Linked DNA regions of Homo sapiens: regions 1, 2, 4 and 5 are each linked to region 3. Evidence: promoter capture Hi-C in 16 types of primary human blood cells and fetal thymus (Javierre and others, 2016). All regions are on one chromosome and are shown on one strand. The core of a region is centred on a gene start or on the middle of the fragment in contact, and the rest is flanking DNA. Distances in the headings are between cores, read along the strand shown.

Evidence for each region. Contacts are between HindIII fragments. The CHiCAGO score rates a contact against its expected background, and 5 or more counts as called.
Region 1: a fragment that was not itself captured here is called in contact with the fragment with the promoter of NANOS3 in region 3 in 1 of 17 cell types (monocytes); the score reaches 6.6 in monocytes.
Region 2: a fragment that was not itself captured here is called in contact with the fragment with the promoter of NANOS3 in region 3 in 17 of 17 cell types (M0 macrophages, naive CD4 T cells, naive CD8 T cells and 14 more); the score reaches 12.2 in M0 macrophages.
Region 4: a contact is called between a fragment that was not itself captured here and the fragment with the promoter of NANOS3 in region 3, in 7 of 17 cell types (naive CD4 T cells, naive CD8 T cells, monocytes and 4 more). The highest score is 8.7, in naive CD4 T cells.
Region 5: a fragment that was not itself captured here is called in contact with the fragment with the promoter of NANOS3 in region 3 in 2 of 17 cell types (activated CD4 T cells and total CD4 T cells); the score reaches 6.1 in activated CD4 T cells.

The regions. Positions count from the first base shown.
Region 1 is chr19:14,385,516-14,389,761 of GRCh38, reverse strand. ADGRE5 (adhesion G protein-coupled receptor E5) reads right to left here. Exons shown (of 20, transcript NM_078481.4): 2 at 1,262-1,312; 3 at 944-1,060. Among named protein-coding and RNA genes, the nearest start is that of ADGRE5, 6.2 kb to the right of the region's middle. The HindIII fragment of the contact is 9,973 bases long and covers 1-4,246 here.
Region 2 is chr19:14,138,785-14,142,763 of GRCh38, reverse strand. The region is part of intron 1 of ADGRL1-AS1 (ADGRL1 antisense RNA 1); the gene reads right to left. Among named protein-coding and RNA genes, the nearest start is that of ADGRL1-AS1, 3.6 kb to the right of the region's middle. The HindIII fragment of the contact is 2,934 bases long and covers 260-3,193 here.
Region 3 is chr19:13,875,794-13,880,168 of GRCh38, reverse strand. NANOS3 (nanos C2HC-type zinc finger 3) reads right to left here and starts at 3,035. Exons shown (of 2, transcript NM_001098622.3): 1 at 2,404-3,035. The coding sequence starts at 2,920. RefSeq lists an enhancer at 24-173. The HindIII fragment of the contact is 10,444 bases long and covers 1-4,375 here.
Region 4 is chr19:14,345,194-14,349,661 of GRCh38, reverse strand. All of the region lies in intron 1 of LINC01841 (long intergenic non-protein coding RNA 1841), which reads left to right. Among named protein-coding and RNA genes, the nearest start is that of LINC01842, 14 kb to the right of the region's middle. RefSeq lists an enhancer at 470-1,348. The HindIII fragment of the contact is 7,067 bases long and covers 1-4,468 here.
Region 5 is chr19:14,275,060-14,279,308 of GRCh38, reverse strand. No RefSeq gene overlaps it. Among named protein-coding and RNA genes, the nearest start is that of LINC01842, 57 kb to the left of the region's middle. RefSeq lists a silencer at 1,098-1,392. The HindIII fragment of the contact is 896 bases long and covers 2,079-2,974 here.

The DNA.
Region 1 (4,246 bases), core at 1,740-4,239, 510 kb before region 3:
CTCTGTCTCTCTCTTTTTTTTTTTTGAGACAAAGTCTTGCTCTGGTCGCCCAGGCCAGAGTGCAGTGGCGCAATCTCGGCTCACTGCAACATTCACCTCCCAGGTTTAAGCGATTCTCCTGCCTCAGCCTCCCGAGTAGCTGGGATTACAGGTGACCACCACCACCCCCGGCTAATTTTTTGTGTTTTTAGTATAGAGAGGAGGTTTCACCATGTTGGCCAGGCTAGTCTCGAATTCCCAACCTCAAGTGATCTGTCCACCTCGGCCTCCTGAAGTGCTGGGATTACAGGCATGACCCACCATGCCGGGCCTATCTCTCTCCCTCCCTTCCTCCCTTCCTTCCTTCCTGCCTCCTTTCCTCTCCCTCTGCCTCCCCCTCCCCTTCCCCGTCTCCCTCCTCATCCCCCTCCCCTTCCCCTCCCCTTCCCCCCTCCCTCCCCCATCCCCCTCCCCTTCCCCCTTCCCCTCCCCTTCCCCTCCCCTTCCCCCTTCCCCTCCCCCTCTCCCTCCCCATCCCCCTCCCTTTCCCCCTTCCCCTCCCCTTCTCCCTCCCCCTACCCCTCTCCCTCTTCCCCTTCCTCTCCCCCTCTCCCTCTTCCCCTTCCTCTCCCTCTCCCTGAGACACGATCTCATTCTGTTGCCCAGGCTAGAGTGCAGTGGTGCAATCATAGCTCACTGCAGCCTCAAACTCTTGGGCTCAAATAATCCTCTCCCCTCAGTCTTCTGAGTACTCCTGGCCTCAAACGATCTGCCCGCCTCAGCCTCCCAAAGTGCTGGGATTACAGGCGTGAGCCACCACGCCTGCCCTCTTTTTCTTTTCTCTGGCCATGATGATAGTCTGGAAGGTAAGGCTGTGGCCCCTCACAACAACCTCTGTCCCCCACTGGCTGGGCAATGCCTCATAATCGCGGATGTCCCCTGCGCTGCCCTCAAGCCTCTGTACCGTCACAAGTCTCCGTCGGGGTGGTGATGATCTCAGAAAAAGAGCTGAACCCTGGATTGCAGCGACAGGCGGTGGCATTGACACACGAGGAGTTCTGAGGGCACCACCGGGCACAGCCTGCAAGAGCAGGGAGCACGGTCAGAAGGTGAGGGGTAAGGGAATACACAAAAAGGGGGCACTGGGGGAGATGGGGCAGGGCGCTGAGTTTCTCGTGCGCGAGCCCTCTCTTTCCCTGGGCTGAAGGGGGCTGGGCGGGGGTCCAGGACCCTCCCCAGGCTCTGGCTGTGGACTGTGCTTTCTGCTTCCCAGCAGACTCACCCCTGGAGTCCTGGGTTTCAGCTCCCGGCAGAGTCAGCCAGACACAGAATGCTGCAACAGAGAAAGGAAAGGGGGTCAGAGGGGATCCCAGGGTGGGAAAGGAGGCGTAAGGGTGATGCACTTTGTGGGAGGAGGATGCTGACCCCTCTCAGGCTCAGATCCTGACGGTCGTTCAGAGTGAGCAGATGTCATGTCCCACTCAGATGCTCAAAGCCAAAGAGTCTGTCACCCTGTTCCCATAGGGGCGGGTTTTTTTGTTTTTGTTTTTTTTTTGACACAGGCTCCTGCTTGGTCACCCAGGCTGGAGTGCAGTGGTGCAATCATATCTCACTGCAGCCTCCAATTCCTAGGCTCAAGAGATCCTCCTGCCTCAGCCTCCCAAGTAGCTGGGACCACAGGTGTGCACTAAATTTTTTTTTCTTTTTGAGACAGAGTCTTGCTCTGTCGCCCAGGCTGAAGTGCAATGCTGTGATCTTGGCTCACTGCAATCTCTACCTCCTGGGTTCAAGTGATTCTCCTGCTTCAGCCTCCTGAGTAGCTGGGATTACAGGAGTCTGCCACCACACCCGGCTAATTTTTTGTATTTTTACTAGAGACAGGGTTTCACCATATTGGCCAGGCTGGTCTCGAACTCCTGACCTCAGGTGATCTGCCTGTCTTGGCCTCCCAAAGTGCTGGGATTACAGGCGTGAGCCACATTTCCTGACTCAAAATTTTTAAAATAAAATAATTTATCATGCCAGGCCAAAAAATTAAAAATAATTTTTTTTTTTGAAACGGAGTCTCACTCTGTCACCCAGGCTGGAGTGCAGTGGCATGATCTCAGCTCACTGCAAGCTCCGCTTCCTGGGTTCATGCCATTCTCCTGCCTCAGCCTCCCGAGTAGCTGGGACTACAGGCGTCCACCACCACACCCGGCTAATTTTTTGTATTTTTAGTAGAGATGGGGTTTCACTGTGTTAGCCAGTATGGTCTCGATCTCCTGACCTCGTGATCCACCCACCTCGGCCTCCCAAAGTGCTGGGATTACAGGCATGAGCCACTGTGGCCGGCCTAAAAATAATTCAAAAAATTATTTTACAGACAGAGTCTTGCTCTGTTGCCCAGGCTGATCTTGAACTCCTGGCCTCAAGCGATCCTCCCCGCCTCAGCCTCCCGAGCTCGGCTTGAGGGTGGAGTTTCAGGAACTGAGTAGGGAAGGGCCATGAGCCTGGTGGGGGTCTCAGCTCCAGCTGCTGCTCTTCTGACCTGGGGTGTGTGGGGAGTGGCTAAGAAAACAGACAGGAGCCAGGCATCCCCAGTTCAAATCCCAGACAGTGGGCCTCTCTGCCTCAGTTTCCCTCTGTAGAATAGGGATGATGGCGCCCACTCCCCAGTGTAGTGTGTGTGGGAGTAAACCACATGACTGCTGTCCGGTGTGCCTGAGCATTTACTGCCATCTTCATTTCTTCTTCTTTTATTTATTTATTTATTTTATTTTTTTTCTGAGACAGAGTCTCTCTCTGTCGCCCAGGCTGGAGTGCGATGGCACGATCCTGGCTCACTGCAACCTCCACCTCCCGGGTTCAAGCAATTCCTCTGCCTCAGTCTCCAGAGTATCTGGGATTACAGGCACCCGCCACCAAGCCCGGCTGATTTTTTTGTATTTTTGTAGAGACGGGGTTTCACCATGTTGGCCAGGCTGGTCTTGAACTCCCGGCCTCAAGTGATCCTCCCGCCTTGGCCTCCAAAAGTGCTGGGATTACAGGCGTGAGCCACCGTGCCCAGCCTGCCATCTTCATTTCTCTTTTTTTTTTTTTTTTTTTTTGAGACGGAGTCTTGCTCTGTCGCCCAGGCTGGAGTGCAGTGGTGCAAACTTGGCTCACTGCAAGCTCCGCCTCCCGGGTTCACACCATTCTCCTGTCTCAGCCTCTCGAGTAGCTGGGACCACAGGCTCCCGCCACCACGCCCAGCTTATTTTTTTGTATTTTTAGTAGAGACAAGGTTTCACCATGTTAGCCAGGATGGTAGTCTTGATCTCCTGACCTCATGATCCGCCCGCCTCAGCCTCCCAAAGTGCTGGAATTACAGGCGTGAGCCACCGCGCCCGGCCTCTCTTTTTTTTTTTTTTTTTTTTTTTTTTGAGATGGAGTCTTGCTCTGTTGCCCAGGATGAAGTGCAGTGGTGTGATCTCTGCTCACTGCAAGCTCCACCTCCCGGGTTCACGCCATTCTCCTGCCTCAGCCTCCAGAGTAGCTGGAACTACTGGCGCCCACCACCACGCCTGGCTAACTTTTTATATTTTTAGTAGAGAAGGGGTTTCACCATGTTAGCCAGGATGGTTTCGATCTCCTGACCTCGTGATCCACCTGCCTTGGCCTCCCAAAGTGCTGGCACAAGCCGCCAGGCCCTGCCTGCCATCTTCATTTCTTTAGGTAAAAATGAAGGCGTGGTCAGGCACAGTGGCTCATGCCTGTAATCCCAGCACTTTGGGAGGCCGAGGCGGGTGGATCACTTGAGATCGGGAGTTCGAGACCAGCCTGCCTAATATGGTGAAACCCCCTCTCTACTGAAAATACAAAAAATTAGCTGGGCGTGGTGGTGGGTGCCTGTTATCCCAGCTACTTGGGAGACTGAGGCTTGAGAATCGCTTGAACTAAGGAGGCAGAGTTGCAGCAAGCCAAGATCACGCCACTGCACTCCAGCCTGAGTGACAGAGCAAGACTCCGTCTCAGAAAAAAAAAAAAAAAAATGACGGTGTTGGATCACCCAGGCTCTGAGATGCCCTGGACCTCCACGCTTCCTCAGGGACACAGGTGCACACACACCACACCCACAACTGCCACTGGCCCTGGCGGTCTGTCCTGGAACCCAGTGGTGATATTTCACCCCCGGGCCCCCCTCCCACAGGAAGACGCTGTAGCCGCCTGTTGGGGTGCACGTGGAGTGGCGGTTCCCAGCACTCAGGGGGTTCCCCCTCCCAAGGCATGTTCTGGGGGACCCTCC
Region 2 (3,979 bases), core at 477-2,976, 260 kb before region 3:
TGGATTAAAAAAAGCAAGTTTCAGAAGGCAGGACCCAGTGCCACCTTAGTGCCAGCTCTGTCAGGATACACCCAGTATGATCCTGCTATCAGAGGTCCCCAAGACCACCCTGAGGTTCAATGACTCACTAAGAGGAGTCACAGGATTTTGCTTGGAAGCGTAGGCATGGCTGTGATTTATGATAGTGAAGAGACACAAGGCACAATCAGCAAAGGGAAAAGATGCAGGAGCTGAAGTCCAGAGGAAACCAGGACAAGCTTCTAAGAGTCCTCTCCTAGTGGAGTCACACAGGACTCCATCAATTCCTACCGCCAAGTATGACAGCACGACGGATAGGCGGTCTACCAGGGAAGCTCATTACTCAGTGACCAGAGTTGTACTTGGGGGTGGTCGTGTACCAAAATGCCAGACTCCAGAAGGAGAGCAGGTGTTCAACATGAACCACATTGTTGGTGGAAACAGTTTAGGCACTCATCATTTGGGGAACGGCAGGAACCCTCCTGAAATCCAAGTTCCTAGATATCAGCCAAGGGCCAATCTTGCAAACAGGTCTTTCTAAGGATAGCAGTCTCAGGCCTGCTAGGTTAACTCTAAATTGCGCAGACACCATTTATATAAAAGTATAGAACATGACAAACAATACTATATATTGTTTAAAGATACACGCCGATATGCACAGAAGACTGTAAACACCAAATTCAGGGTTGTGGTTACATGTGAGGAAAAAGGAAGAGGAATGGGTTTGATGTAGGGGTATAGGGCCCTTCAGTTGCATCTCTAATGTTTTAGCTGTTAAGCTGGGTAACAGTATTTTGCTATAGCACTTCTTATACTTTCTCGAGCATGTGTGCACCTGAAGTATTAAACAAGAATGAAGACGTATCTGCTTATTACTATATGCTACTAACAGTTCAGTCTTTTGTTTGTTTTTAGACAGGGTCTCACTCTGTTGCCTAGCTAAGCTGGAGTGCAGTGGTGAGATCTTGGTTCACTGCAACCTCTGCCCCCAGGGCTCAAGCAATCCTCTCACCTCAGCCTCCTGAGTAGCTGGGACCACAGGCACATGCCACCACACCCGGCTAATTTTTTTATGTTTTGTAGAGACAGGGTTTTGCCCAGGCTGGTCTCGAACTCCTGAGGTCAAGCAATCTACCCGCCTCAGCCTCCCAAAGTGCTGGGATTACAGGCGTGAGCCACTGCACCTGGCTGGTTCATGTTTATTGAGTACTTTTCACATTCCAGGTACTATGCTAAACCCACCCTTTACATAGATTTATTCTTTTTTTTTTTGAGACGGAGTCTTCCTCTGTCACCAGACTGGAGTGCAGTGGTGCAATCTAGGCTCACTGCAACCTCCACCTCCCAGGTTCAAGCAATTCCCCTGCCTCAGCCTCCCAAGTAGCTAGGACTACAGGTACGCACCACCACGGCTGGCTAATTTTTTGTATTTTAGTAGAGACAGGTTTTAATCATGTTTGCCATGATGGTCTCGATCTCCTGACCTGGTAATCCGCCCACCTCGGCCTCCCAGAGTGTGTGACTCACTGCGCCCAGCCAGATTTATTCTTTTTGAAAAATTGATTGAGGACTTTCTATGAGCCACGTCCTCTGCTAAGCTCTGGAAGTACAACATTGAGAGGTGTGAGCTAGGCGAGATCTCTTCTCACAACCAGCTTTCAATCTACTGAGGGATGATGAGATAATAAGCACAATTTAAAACCAAAATAAGTAGAAATTCTTTTTTTCTTTTTAAGATGGAATCTCTCTCAGTTGCCCAGGCTTGAGTGCAGTGGCGTGATCTCGGCTCATTGCAGCCTCTGCCTCCCCGGTTCAAGCAATTCTTCTGCCTCCTGAGCAGCTGGGACTACAGGCACGTGCCACCACGCCCAGCTAATTTATTTATTTATTTATTTATTTATTTTGTATTTTTTTTTTTTAGTAGAAACGGGGTCTTGCCATGTTGGCCAGGCTGGTCTCGAACTCCTGACCTCAAGTGACCGGCCCGCCTTGGCCTCCTAAAGTGCTGGGATTATAGGTGTGAGCCACCATGCCCACCCGAAAATAAGTACAAATTCTGATATGCGTTACTAAGATCATAAAACTGAGTGATGTGATTAAGAAAAAGCTACTTTATTTATTTATTTATTTTTTTTGACACGGAGTCTTGCTCTGTCACCCAGGCTGGATTGCAGAGGCACGATCTCAGCTCACTGCAACCCTCACCTCTCAGATTCAAGCGATTCACCTGCCTCAGCCTCCCAAGTAGCTGGGACTACAGGCGCCCGCCACCACGCCCGGCTAATTTTTTGTATTTTTAGTAGAGATGCGGTTTCACCATGTTAGCCAGGATGGTCTCGATCTCCTGACCTCGTGATCCGCCTGCCTTGGCCTCCCAAAGTGCTGGGATTACAGGCATGAGCCACCGCGCCCGGCCAAGAAAGTGCTACTTTAAATAGGGTACTCTGGGAAGTCTTCTTTCAGAGGACATTTGAGCTGAACCACAAGCGAAGAGAAAGAGACAGCCATGCAATTATCTGGAGGAAGCACATTCCAGGCAGAGGGAACGGCAAGTGCAAAGCCCTGCGGCAGAAATAAGCTGGGTGTGTTGAAAGAAGGGAAATAAAGCCAGCTGGGCTTGAGAGCGGTGACAAGAGGAAGAATGGTAGATGAGGCCTGAGAGGTCAGCTGAGGCCACCACGCAGGGCCGCCTAAGCCATAGGAAAGATCTTAGGTTTCATTCTAAGTAGGATAAGCCTCTGAAGGTTTTAAGCAGAGTAATGACATGATCTGGTTTACAAGTGAAGATCATTCAGCCAGCTGTAAGGAGAATGCATCATAGACAGGGCCACATTCTTCATTAGCGCCACGGAAATAATGCTGGTGGATCATGAGCTTCTCAGGGGCTACGAAAAGGTCAGGGACAGGGATAAAGGGAAAAAAGTTCCACAATGCAAAGAGAAAACTACAAAGTTGGAATGAATAAATGTTTAATTAAGCATCTAGAAATGTGACATCATGACAACTGCATTAATCATTAAATTTAGTATTCATAAGCAATCGAATTACATTTGGAAATTAGATTTTCTCAAATCACAAATATCCCTAAGTATGCAATGATTGCCAAGAAATCAAGCGAATCATAAATGTGAGTTTCCTTGAAGCCAAATAATTTCAAAAGAATAAAAACAAAGCTTTCGATTTTTTAACAGCTAAAAAGAATTTTTCTTAACTTAATGTGAGATGTAGATACCAAAAATGGGCTAGGCGCTGTAATCCCAGCACTTAAGGACAAGATAGGTGGACTGCTTGAGGCCAGGAGTTTCAAGACCAGCCTGGGCAACAGCGAGACCCTGTCTCTACAAAAAATTTAAAAAGTATAAGAGGCAGGGCACGGTGGCTCATGCCTGTAATCTCAGCACTTTGGGCGGCCGAGGTGAGTGGATCACCTGAGGTCAGGAGTTTGAGACCAGCCTGGCCAACATAGTGAAACCCCATCTTTACTAAAAATACAAAAATTAGCTGGGTAAGGTAGCGTGTGCCTGTAGTCCCAGCTACTCGGGAGGCTGAGGTGGGAGAATCGCTTGAAGCTGGAAGCAGGAGGTTGCAGTGAGCTGAGATTGCGCCACTGCATTCCAGCCTGAGTGACAGAGCAAGACTCCCTCTCAAAAAAAAAATAAAATAAAATAAAACAAATTAGGCATGGTGGCACGCACTGGTGATCCCAGCCACTCGGGAGGCTGAGGTGGGAGGATCACTTGAGCCCAAGAGTTCCAGGTTATAGTGAGCCACGATTATGCCACTTGCACTCCAGCCTGGGCAACAGACCTCTATTAAAAAAAAAAAATCCCACAGGAACTGGATTGTTTAAAAAGAAAAGGAAAAGGAAAACATACTAGCACAGTGAGTGAGTCCTAGTGAGCCCACAGAGGTGACTGGGTAAGAAATACTAGTGCCTTGGCTCAGTGCTGTTCAGGCGTAC
Region 3 (4,375 bases), core at 1,786-4,285:
TTGTTCATCAGAAAGGCTGGCCGCAGGACACCATCTTCCCTATGTCCTTTTGGCCTCCAGCGTCTCCCAGTGAGACAGCATCAAACCTCACAGGAAACACTATCTTCTCCTGGAGGCAGTCTTTCATGCTTTCTTTTTTTTGTGAGACGGAGTCTCACTCTGTCGCCCAGGCTGGAGTGCAGTGACGTGACCTCAGCTCACTGCGACCTCCACCTCCCGGGTTCTAGCGATTCTCCTGTCTCAGCCCCCCGAGTAGCAGGGATTACAGGCGCATGCCACCATGCCCAGTTAATTTTTTGTATTTTCAGTAGAGACGGGGTTTCACCATGTTGGCCAGGCTGGTCTTGAATTCCTGACCTCAGGTGATCCACCTGCCTCAGCTTCCCCAAGTACTGGGATTACAGGCATGAGCCACCATGACCAGTGCTTTTTTTTTTTTTTAAGACGAGGTCTTGCTGTGTTGCCCAGGCTGCAGTGCAGTGGCACCATCTCAGCTCACTGCAGCCTCTGTCCCCTGGACCCAAGCGATCCTCCCTCGTCAGCCTCCCAAGTAGCTGGGACTACAGGCACACACTACCATGCCCAGCTAATTTTTTGTAGACACTGGGTTTCACCATGTTGCCCTGGCTGGTCTCAAACTCTTGGGCTCAAGCGATCCTCCTGCCTTGGCCTCCCAAAGTATTGGGATTACAGGTGTAAGCCATCACACCTGACCCTTTCATGACTTTAAGAAATGTTCACTGCAAAGCTGCCTGAGAGTAGTTGGGAGGGGTCGTCCTCTCCCAGTCACTATCCTCCAGGAGCTCACAGTCTGCTGGGGGAGGCAGTGCCCAAACACACCTAGTTAGACTGGCCCCTCCTCTGTTAGCTGACTTCCTCAAAGGCAATTTAAGTTGCTAGAACGAGTTTCTCTTTTAAAACCTCACTGGGGGCCAGGCATGGTGGCTCAAGCCTGTAATATCAGCACTTCGGGAGGCTAAGGCGGGTGGATCTCGAGGTCAGGAGTTCAAGACTCAGCCTGGCCAAGATGGTGAAATCCCGTCTGTACTAAAAATACAAAAATTAGCCGTGCGTGGTGGTGGGTGCCTGTAATCCCAGCTACTCGGGAGGCTGAGGTAAGAGAATCGCTTGAACCCGGGAGACAGGTTGCAGTGAGCCAAGATCGCGCCACTGCACTCTAGCCTGGGTGACAGAGCAAGACTCCATCTCAGAAAAATAATCAAATAAAAGAAAGAAAGAAAGAAAACCTCACTGGGGCCAGGCGTGGTGGCTCACGCCTATAATCCTAGCATTTTGGGATGCCTAGGCAGGAGGATCACCTAAGCCGTGTTTGAGACCGGCCTGGGAAACATAGTAAGACCCTGTTTCTATGGGAGGAAAAAAAAAACACACCAGGAATGGTGGTGCACGCCTGTAATTCCAGCTACTCGGGAGGCTGAGGCAGGAGAATCGCTTGAACCCAGGAGGCAGAGGTTGCAGTGAGCCAAGATCGCACCACTGAACTCCATCCAGCCTGGGTGGATAGAGCGAGACTCTATCTCAAAAAAAAAAATTAAAAAAAAAAAGGAAGAAAAATAAATTGATAAATAAATAAAATAAAAGTCTTCTTTCTGCATCTATAATAACCCTGCGGGCCAGATGTGGTGGCTGATGCCTGTAATCCCAGCACTTTGGGAGGCTGAGGAGGGTGGATCACGAGGTTGGGAGTTCGAGACCAGCCTGGCCAACATGGTGAAACCCCATCTCTACTAAAAATACAAAAATTAGCTGGCCATGGTGGCAGGCGCCTGTAATCTCAGCTTCTCAGGAGGCTGAGGCAGAAGAATCGCTTGAACCCGGAAGGCAGAGGTTGCAGTGAGCCAAGATCATGCCACTGCACTCCAGCCTGGGTGACAGAAAGAGACTCTGTCTCAAGATAAATAAATAAATACATAAACAAACTGGCTCGGTGCGGTGCTCACGCCTGTAATCTCAGCAGTTTGGGAGGCCGAGGTGGGCGGATCACGAGATCAGGAGTTTTGAGACCAGCCTGGCCAACATGGTGAAACCCCATCTCTACTAAAAATACAAAATTTAGCCGGGCATGGTGGCAATTAGCCGGGTGTGGTGGCGCGCGCCTATAATCCCAGCTACCCAGGAAGCTGGGGCAGGAGAATCGCTTGAATCCAGGAGGTGGAGGTTGCAGTGAGCCGAGATGGCGCCACTGCACTCCAGCCTGAGCAACAGAAAGAGACCTGTCTCAAGATAAATAAATAAATACGTAAATAAAATCAACTGCTGTTCTAAGCTCTCTCTAAGGTCTTCCCCTAACCCTTGGAGGTGGGTACTGGGGCTAATCTTACTTCACAGGGGGGCTCAGCCACTACCCTCGGACAGGTCCCCCCCAGCCACCTGTGCAGGCACCTGCTCCTCCTCCTCCTCCTCGGCGGTGGCCTGTGTCCTGTGTCTTCGCCTTGTCAGGCCGGACCAGCTTCTTGCCTGCCGAGTTTCGGGTGGTGTGGCTGTAGACGGAGGTGTAGCCCTGGCCAGTAAGTGGGCAGAAGCGTCGGGTGTGGGCGCGCTCACGTGTGGCGCCGCACTGGGGACACACGTAGTCCCGCAGGATGGGACACAGCACCCTGCCAGCCTCGTCCTTCAGCACGTGGGACTGGTAGATGGCCCGGGACTCGCCGTTGTGTTTGCAGAAAGAGCACAGGCGTTCGGGAGCTGGCGAGGACTCCAGGCTGCGCTTCTGATCCTTGGGTCCCGGCACTGGCACCGACTCCGGCGCTGGCATCGGCTCCAGGGCTGACACCGGCTCCAGCATTGGCTCTGGCTCTGGCTGGGGGCTCAGCCTGGTTTCAGGACCCTCTTTCCCACTCAGAGCCCTAACCAGGTGTGCCAAACCCAGGTAATCTGTCCACAGGTCAAAGGTCCCCATAGCTGGGCAGCATGTGCCAGGCGGAAGGAGTCACAGAGACAAGTAACCCTGCCTGGCTTAAGCTCCCTCCTTCTGACCCCTCTCTGCTGCCCCTTCCTTCCCCTCTCTGGAGCCTGGGAGTCTGTGCTGGCCGACCCTCCTTTTACCTCCAAGGGGGTGTGAAGAGGGAGGAGCAGGCTGTGGGAGGTTCCTTATTGTCACAGGGGGGCCTGGTGCCCCACTAATACTCCTCCTAAAGGGCTGTATGGCCTCTGGCTGTGCCGGGGGACTACAGGACACAGGGTGTGTGGGGGGGCATCCTGCGAGGTGCACCACAGCCCCCCGTACACACCTCCAGGGAATTGGGGGGCTACCCTGCCTCCCCTCCTTGTAGGAGTCCTTAGCCCTCCAGCCCCACTGGAGGATGGGGAGAATGGGTTGGAAACCCCACCCCCAAAGACTAGCAGTTACCAGTAACTTAAAGAAGTTAACTTAGTAACTTCTTTATAACTTTTTCTTCCTTCCCCTGGGCGGGGGAGTGGCCAGGTGCCCCTGGGTTCTTTGTGTGTGTGTGTGTCCAGGCGGGAGGTTGCTGATGCTCCAGCTGTCTCTGAAAGGAGTGTGGTAGTCCCAGGCTCATGGGCTGGTTGCGGGGGTAGGGGGGAAGGATCATGCCCCCCGGCCCCCAGCTCTGGTCTCCCTCCAAGAGTTTTCACATCGGTTGTCTTAGTGGAACCCCCATTGAATGGATGAGCAAACTGAGGTGTGAAGCCACCTGCCCATCCAGTTATTTATAAAGACATGCACCAGGCCAGGGAGTGGTGGCTCATGCCTGTCATCCCAACAGTTTGGGAGGCCAAGACAGGCGGATCACCTGAGGTCAAGAGTTCGAGACCAGCCTGGCTAACATGGTGAAACCCTGTCTCTACTAAAAATACACACACACACACACACACACACAAAATTAGCTGGGCATGGTGGCGGGTGCCTGTGATCCCAGCTACTCAGGAGGCTGAGGCAGAAGAATTGCTTGAACCCAGGAGGCAGAGGTTGCGGTGAGCCAAGATCAAGCCACTGCACTCCAGCCTGGGAAACAGAGTAAGACTCTGTCTCAAAACAACAACAACAAAAAGCACCACATCTGCCTCCTTCTTCTAGTTACTGGGGCCCCCTGAGGCTAGGTGCTGGGGAGGGAGCCCTTTCCTGGCGGGGGCTGCAGAGGGGTGAGAAAGAACCCTCTGGAGTTGGGAGGTGGGGGATAGCAAGTTGGGCTGTTAGGAGGGGACCCCTAGTACCTACAGGTCTTCAGTGTCCTCCCCGAGATGAGATCTCAGCTCAGTCCCAGGAGGGGAGGGTGTGCTCAGGACTTGGACACAGAGGAGAGACGCTGTGCCGCTTACACAGCTCATCCACCCATCCATTCATTTAAGAAACTTTTATTGGCCAGGCACTGTGGCTCATTTTGAGAGGCCGAGG
Region 4 (4,468 bases), core at 412-2,911, 470 kb before region 3:
TGCGCCTTCTACTGGAAATCCTGGCTCCAGACTCGGCATGGCTGGGGCTTTATTCTTCTCAGGCCTCAGGATAAGCGTCACTTCCTCAGAGCCCACTCCACCCACTCTACCCACAGCAGGTGCTTCAGTGACATCCCTGTATATACTTTCTCCTTCAGAACACTTACTGCACTTACTGCCATCAGCAATGATCTTGCAGCCTGTTGTCCTCTTCCTCCTCTCTTCTCTCTTCCCTTGGACTGTAAGCTCCAGAAGGGCATGGAGGTTTATCTGTTTTGTTTCCATTTTTTTTCTTTTTTTTGAGATGGAGTCTTGCTCTGTCGCCCAGGCTGGAGTGCAGTGACACGATCTCTGCTCACTGCAACCTCCGTCTCCTGGGTTCAAGTAATTCTCCTGCCTCAGCCTCCTGAGTAGCTGGGATTACAGGCGCCCGCCACCACGCCTGGCTAATTTTTGTATTTTTAGTAGAGAGGGGGTTTCACCATGTCGGTCAGGCTGGTATCGAACTGCTGACCTCGTGATCCGCACGCCTTGGCCTCCCAAAGTGCTGGAATTACAGGCGTGAGCCACCGTGCCTGGCCGAGCCACTGTACCTGGCCTCTTTTTACTTTTAGAGACAGGGTATCGCTGTGTTTCTCAGACTGGAGTGCAATGGTGCCATCATGACTCACAGCAGCCTCCATCTTCTGGGCTCAAGTGATCCTCCCACCTCAGCCTCCTGAGTGGCTGGGGTTACAGGCCTGAGCCAGCCCCATTCTGTCTTCTGTGTACTCTAAACCTAGAGCAATGATCTAGGTTTGCTCAATACACACAGTAGGTGCTCAATAAATGTTGCATGAATGCATGGACGACGAGTTCTAGCTGGGAAATGGCAGCCGGGAAAAGTGGGTTGTGGAGGAGAATTTAAGAGATGAGAGCTGTTTCCGAAACTCCTGGAGGGCCCGAGGTCCCCCGGGTTGGGGAGAAACGGGGGCGACCGTCCACCTCCCCGGGAGTCGCACGCACCTCCCCTTGGAGGCCCACAGGTGGCGCTCGCTCCCCGCGCTGCAGTGGCGGGAAGCGGAGGTGGAAAAACCCGAGCTTTAGCCCCGTCCCGGGTCTGGCTGCTGGGGTCAGTTCCTGGCCCGGATTTGGACGCCAGTCCCTGGGATCCTGCTTGGGGTCCTACCTCGTGGTAGAGGGGCTTTTTGGTCAAACGAGGGGGATCTGAGAAGAGTGGGGGTGGTGGGCTGCAGAGTCCGGGCAGCTGAGGGCTCCCTCCATCTGTCCACGCGTGCTCTGATTCCATTCCCAAAACTAGTTCAGCAGCTCCATGCCTGGGGGAGGGGGAGACGCACTTACCATGTTCGTGTTCTTCCTTAACTTTATATAGGTTAGAGCTGGGCGCAGCGCTTGGTGTCAGTGGGTCTTGGGTGCACATTTGTGGAATGGTGAATGGGTGAATCCCCGTTTTACAGATGGGGAAACTGAGGCTCAGGGAGGCGATGCGGCTCACCCAGGTTCATAGAGCCAGAAAATGGCAAGGCTGGGATTGGAGACACCAGGCCTGTGTGAGTCCAGAGTCAGCCCATTTTGTTTGTTTGTTTGTTTGAGACACGGTTTTGCTCTGTCACTCAGGCTGGAGTGCAGTGGCAGGATCTTGGCTCAGTGCAACCTCTGCCTCCTGGGTTCAAGCCATCTCCTGCCTCAGACTCCCGAGTAGCTGGGATTACAGGCACGCGCCACCACGCCCAGCTAATTTTTTGTATTTTTAGTAGAGACAGGGTTTCACCACGTTGACCAGGCTGGTGTGAAACTCCTGACCTCAAGTGATCTGCCCGCCTCAGCTTCCTAAAGTGCTGGGATTACAGGCGTGATGCTTGGCCAAGAGTCAGCCAATGTTTAAAAAACAATGTATGTTTAAAAAACATTGTATTTGGCTGGGCGTCATGGCTCACGCCTATAATCCCAGCACTTTGGGAGGCTGAGGCGGGTGAATTACTGGAGGTCAGGATTTCAAGACCAGCCTGGCCAACATGGCGAAACCCCGTCTCTACTAAAAATACAAAACTAGCTGGGCGTGGTGGCATGCGCCTGTAATCCCGGTTACTCGGGAGGCTGAGGCAGGAGACTCCTTTGAACCCGGGAGGCAGAGGTTGCAGTGAGCTGAGGTCACGCCATTGCACTCCAGCCTGGGCAAAAAGAGCGAAACTTCGTCTCAAAAGAACAAACAAACAACAACAACAACAAAAATTGTATTTTATTTATTGCAGAGACGAGAAGTCTTGCCATGTTGCCCGGGTTGGTCTCCAACTCTTGGGCTCAAGACATCCTCCTGCTTCAGGCTCCCTCAGTGCTGAGATTTCAGGTGAGCACTACCTCGCCCAGCCTAAAAACATTTTTCAATAGATTTTCTAGTTACCCAAAGTGATACAGGATTCCCTCTGGGAAGCTAAAGCCCTTCCTGTCCCTCCTTATCTCAATTCCGAGATGATGGTGGGGAGGGTCTCCTTTCATCCTACCCTCTTTGCCTTCAAAAGCATGTCTACACATGCCTAAGGGGTCTCTGGGTTTCTAGCTGGGTCATAAACTTCTCCTGTCTGGGCTGGGCACAGTGGCTCATGCCAATAATCCCAGCACTTTGGGAGGACAAGGTGGGAGGATCACTTAAGATCAGGAGTTCGAGACCAGCCTGGTCAACATGGAGTGACCCTGTCTCTACTAAAAATACAAAAATTAGCTGGGTGTGGTGGCACGCGCCTGTAGCTACTTGGGAGACTGAGGCATGAGAATCGTTTGAACCCAGGAGGCAGAGGTTGCAGTGAGCTGAGATGGTGCCACTGCACTCCAGCCTGGGCAACAGAGCAAGACTCCATCTCAAAAAACAAAAACAAAAACACAACAACAAAACACTTACCCTGTCTGGGCCTCAGTTGCCTCGTCTCTAAAATGGTTTTAATGGTCATTGAACCACTTTCCAGGGTGTCTGTGAGTTGCACAAAAAGCTGGTCTGGGCAGGGCCCCACATCTGGGTGGAATTGGGGGTCTCCTCTGCTGGTTTATACATCTTGGTAGGAAAACACACCAGGTGTGGATGATCCTGCTGTTTCCTTAGTTCAAGGACTTGGTGCACAGTGGGTATGTGTGGTCTAATGCTGCCGGTGCACCCACTGTGTCTGCATTTGAATAATGTGCGTGCACTGAGCTGTTTCCACGTGGGGCCCAGTGGCTTCCCGTAGACCAGGGTTTCTCAATGTCAGCACTCTTGACATTTGGGGCCACATCATTTTTTGCTCTGGGGAACTGTTCTGTGCCTTGTAGGATTTTTTTTTTTTTGCAGGGGAGATGAGGTCTTGCTATGTTGCCCAGGCTGGCCTTGGACTCATGGCCTCAAGTGATCCTCGTGCCTTGACTTCCCGAAGTGCTGGGATCACAGGCCTTAGCCACCTTGCCCAGTCCCTTGTAGGACATTGAGCGTCCCTGAACTGGACCCACTAAATGCCAGGAGTACCCCTGCCCCCATTTTTTTTTTTTTTTTTTTTTTTTGAGATGGAGTCTCACTCTGTCGCCCAGGCTGGAGTGAGGTGGAATGATCTTGGCTCACTGCAACCTCTGCCTCCCAGGTTCAAGTGATTCCCCCACCTCAGCCTCTCGAGTAGCTGGGATTACAGGCACTAACCACCACACCTGGCTAATTTTTGTATTTTTAGTAGAGATGGAGTTTTCCCCATATTGGCCACGCTGGTCTTGAACTCCTCACCTCAAGTGATCCGCCCACTTTGGTCTCCCAAAGTGCTGGGGTTACAAGTGTAAGTCACTGTGTCTGGCCCCCTGCCCCAATTTTACAGCCAGAAATACCTTCAGACATTGCCAAATGTCTCCTGGGTGACAGAGTTACCCTCATTGAGACCCATTGCTGTGTATACTTCTGGGAGGTACACATACAGGTCAGAAACAGACCCTGATAGAGGGTTGGAGGGCAAGTGGTTTATTTGGGAAATGAACACAGGAAACCTGGGGAGGGGAGAAGAGAGATGACAAGGGATATCAAACAGGTTGTCACTACGGAAAACTGGGGCCTGATCCCTCCAGGGGTCTCTGGGAGACTGTGGATTAGGCATATGCTGGGGAGGGAGCTGGGGTATTTATCCACCAACTCATTCCATTTCTGGCTCAGGGCTACTCCCAGGGATGTCAATTTCCCACACTCTGTCTCCTGTTCAAGTACACTGAAGTGATCAGGTCCCAGATGTGGCCAGGGTCCAGCGGGACATCTCTGCAGCGGTTTCTGTTCCTTTTTGTGCGAGCCCACCCGGGCTTTTGGTCTCTTCGGGCTGTGCGAGCCCACCCGGATGTCTGCAGCCGGCTGTGTGTATATTTGGTGTGCCAGTGTGTGTTTATCTGCCATGCATGTGTTTGCGTCTGTATTTATCTGGCACAAGTGTGCTTGTCTTTGTTTTCCCTTCTGCTCCATCTCCACGAATGTGGG
Region 5 (4,249 bases), core at 1,277-3,776, 400 kb before region 3:
GTTCCCCTGCAGCTTCACCCCCTCAAGAGCAGATCTGCTTCTTCCAAAGGGAACCTCTTTTCTTTCTTCAGTCACATCCATTTTTTTTCTTTTTTTTTGAGACAGAGTCTCACTCCATCACCCAGGCTGGAGTGCAGTGGCGCGATCTCAGCTCACTGCAACCTCCACCTCCCGGGTTCAAGCAATTCTCCTGCCTCAGTCTCCTGAGCGGCTGGGACTATAGACAAGGCATGTGCTACCATGCCTGGCTAATTTTCTGTATTTTTAGTAGAGACGGTGTTTCATCCTGTTGGCCAGGCTAGTCTTGAACAGGACCTCACATGATCCACCCGCCTTGGCCTCCCAAAGTACTGGTGTGTCCAGAATCAGTGGGTTCTTGGTCTCACTGACTTCAAGAACGAAGCCGCAGACCCTTGCAGTATTACAGTTCTTAAAGGTGGTGTGTCGGGAGTTTGTTCCTTCTGATGTTCGGATGTGTTTGGAATTTCTTCTTTCTGGCGGGCTGGTGGTCCCGCTGGCTTCGGCAGTGAAGCTGCAGACCTTCACGGCGAGTGTTGCAGCTCTTAAGGCAGCACGTCTGTAGTTGTTCATTCCTCCCGGTGGGTTCCTGGTCTCACTGGCCTCAGGAGTGAAGCTGTAGACCTTCGCGGTGAGTGTCACAGCTCATAAACGCAATGCAGACCCAAAGAGTGTGCAGCAGTAAGATTTATTGCAAAGAGCAAAAGAACAAAACTTCCACACCATGGACGGGAATGGGAGCAGGTTGGCACTGCTAGCTCGGGCAGCCTGCTTTTATTCCCTTATCTGGCCCCACCCACATCCTGCTGATTGGTCCGTTTTACAGAGAGCTGATTGGTCCATTTTGACAGGGTGCCAATTAGTGCGTTTACAATCCCTGAGCTAGGCACAAAAGTTCTCCAAGTCCCCACTAGATTAGCCAGACACAGAGCACTGATTGGTGCATTTACAAACCTTGAGCTAGACAGAGAGTGCTGATTGGTGTATTTACAATCCCTTAGCTAGACACTAAAGGTTCTCCAAGTCCCCACCATATTAGCTAGATACAGAGTGCAAACCTTGAGCTAGACACAGAGTGCTGATTGGTGTATTTACAAATCTTGAGCTAGACACAGAGTGCTAATTGGTGCATTTACAAGCCTTGAGCTAGACAGAGTGCTGATTGGTATATTTACAATCCCTTAGCTAGACATAAAGGTTCTCCAAGTCCCACTGGACTCAGGAGTCCAGCTGGCTTCACATAGTGGATCCCGCACCAGGGCAGCAGGTGGAGCTGCCTGCCAGTCCCGCGCTGTGCGCCCGCACTTCTCAGCTCTTGGGTGGTCGGTGGGACCCGGCGCCGCGGAGCAGGGGGCGGCGCTGGTAGGGGAGGCTCAGGCCGCACAAGAGGCCATGGCGTTGGGGGAAGGCTCAAGCATGGCAGGCTGCAGATCCCGAGCCCTGCCCGGCGGGGAGGTAGCTGAGGCCCAGCGAGAATTCGAGCACAGCGCCGGGACCCGGCGAACCCTCCGCAGCTGCTGGCCCGGGTGCCAAGCCCCTCACTGCCCAGGGCCGGCAGCGCCAGCCTGCTGCTCCGAGTGCGGGGCCACGGAGCCCACACCCACCTGGAACTCACGCTGGCCTGCAAGTGCAGCGGGCAGCCCTGGTTTCCACCAGTCCGCACCTCCCCACAAGCTGAGGGAGCTGGCTCCGGCCTCAGCCAACCCAGAGAGGGGTTCCCACATTGCAGCCGCAGGCTGAAGGGCCCCTCAAGCGCGGCTAGAGTGGGCGCCTGAGGCCCAGGAGGCGCCGAGAGCGAGCGAGGGCTGCGAGGGCTGCCAGCACACTGTCACCTCTCACTGGGATTACAGGCTTGAGCCACCATGGCCGGCGGACATCCTCTTCTTAAATGCCCCTCCACTAAACCCTTTGAGGCCACCCCACGTGCTTCCCTCCAGCCCCAAACCCGCCAGCAACCCCAGGCACAGGGCCTGGCCCGGTTTCTTGCAAAACTTTCTGAACCCGCTCTGACTACTAAGTGGTTAAAAATATCCACTCCACCCAGGCAATTTTGCTAAGCTTATGTCAGGGGGAGAAAGGGAGACTCCGGAGAGCTCACAAATGAAGCAAATTGCTGAAAATCGGATTTTTACTGTCTTATCTCGGAGCCACATGAGAGGAGAGGAGATTGCAATTTCTGCGGGAACTTTCTCACATCCCCGAGTTTGAAGAGAGCAAGTGGCAGGGGAGGAGGTGCAGAGAGAAGGCTGGGAGAGGGAACCAGAAGAGAAGAGAGAGGTGTGAGAAGGAAAAAGCAAGTAGAGGCTGGGAGCGGTGGCTCACGCCTGTAATCCCAGCACTTTGGGAGGCTGAGGTGGGCGGATCACTTGAGGTCAGGAGTTCAAGACCAGCCTGACCAACATGGTGAAACCCTGTCTCTACTAAAAATACAAAAATTAGCTGGGTATGATTGCGTGCGCCTGTAGTCCCAACTACTTGGGAGGCTGAGGTGGGAGAATCGTTTGAACATGGGAGGCAGAGGTTGCAATGAGCCAAGATCACACCACTGCACTCCAGTCTGAGTGACAGAATGAGACTCTCTCTCAAAAAAAAAAAAAAAAAAAAAGCAAGAAGACAGAGGGGGAGGAAAGAATACACAAGAGAAAAGGAAAACAGCCACGTGAGACATTAAGGCAGAACTGAGAAAGGTAGCTGGGTGCAGTGGCTCATGCTTATAATCCCAGCACTTTGGGAGGCTGAGGAGGGAGGATTGCTTGAGGCCAGGAGTTCGAGACCAGCCTGACCAACATGGCAAGACCCCATTTCCACTAAAAAGAAAGAAAAGGGCCAGACACAGTGGCTCACACCTGTAATCCCAGCACTTTGGGAGGTTGAGGCAGCCAGATCACCTGAGGTCAGTATTACATGCGTCCATATGACGAGACCACCAAACAGGCTTTCTGTAAGCAATAAAGCTTTTTAATCACCTGGGTGCAGGCGGACTGAGTCCAAAAAAGGAGTCAGCAAAGGGGTGGGGCAGTTTTATAGGATTTGGGTAGGTAGTGGAAAATTACAGTTAAACGGGGTTTTCTCTTGTGGGCAGGGGCGGGGGTCACAAGGTGCTCGGTGGGGAGCTCCTGAGACTCATTGTCCAGGAGAAGGAATGTCACAAAGTCAATTGATCAGTTAGGGTGGGGCAGGAACAAATCACAATGGTGGAATGTCATCCACCATTAGCCAGTTAAGGCAGGAATTGACTATTTCACTTTTTTTGTGGTTCTTCAGTTGCTTCAGGCCGTCTGGATGTATACGTGCAGGTCACAGGGGTTATGATGGCTTAGCTTGGGCTCAGAGTCCTGACAGTAAGGAGTTTCAGACCAGCCTGGCTAACATGGTGAAACCCTGTCTCTACTAAAAGTACAAAAATTAACCGGGCTTGGTGGCAGGCACCTGTTATCCCAGCTACTCAGGAGGCTGAGGCAGGAGAATAGCTTGAACCCGGGAGGTGAAGGTTGCAGTGAGCTGAGAACACACTACTGCACTCCAGCCTGGGCAACACAGTGAGACTCTGTCTCAAAAAAAAAAAAAAAAGAAAGAAAGAAAAGGGCTGGGCGCAGTAGCTTACACCTGTATTCCCAGCACTTTGGGAGGCCAAGGTGGGCGGATCACCTGAGGTTAGGAGTTCGAGACCAGCCTGGTCAACATGTCAAAACCCTATCTCTACTAAGAGTACAAAAATTAGCTGAGCGTGGTGGTGGGCGCTTGTAATCCCAGCTACTCAGGAGGCTGAGGCAGGAGAACAGCTTGAATCCAGGAGGCAGACGTTGCAGTGAGCCAAGATCACGAAACTGCACTCCAGCCTGGGTGATAAGAGCGAGACTCTTTCTCAGAAAAAAGGAAAAGGAAGGGAGGGAGGGAGGGAAGGGAAGGGAAGGAGAGAGGGGGAAGAAAGAGAAAAAGAAAGAGAGAAAGAAAAGAAAGAAAGAGAAAGAGAAAAAAGAAAAGAGAGAGAAAAGAAAGGAAAGATGTGGGGATTACTGGGGGGTTTTGGATCCTGTGACTCCAGCCAAAAGCACCTGCAGGAGCTGTCCCACTTTCAAAGTCCCTTGGCCCATGACATGCAATTTTAATTGCAGAGCAAGCTCGTGCAGTTAAGTAGGGGCCTCTCACCCCATTTTACAGAGGACAAAATGGAGCCTTAGAGAAAGAACACTGACATGTTTGACTGTGTCTCCACCCAAATCGCATCTAG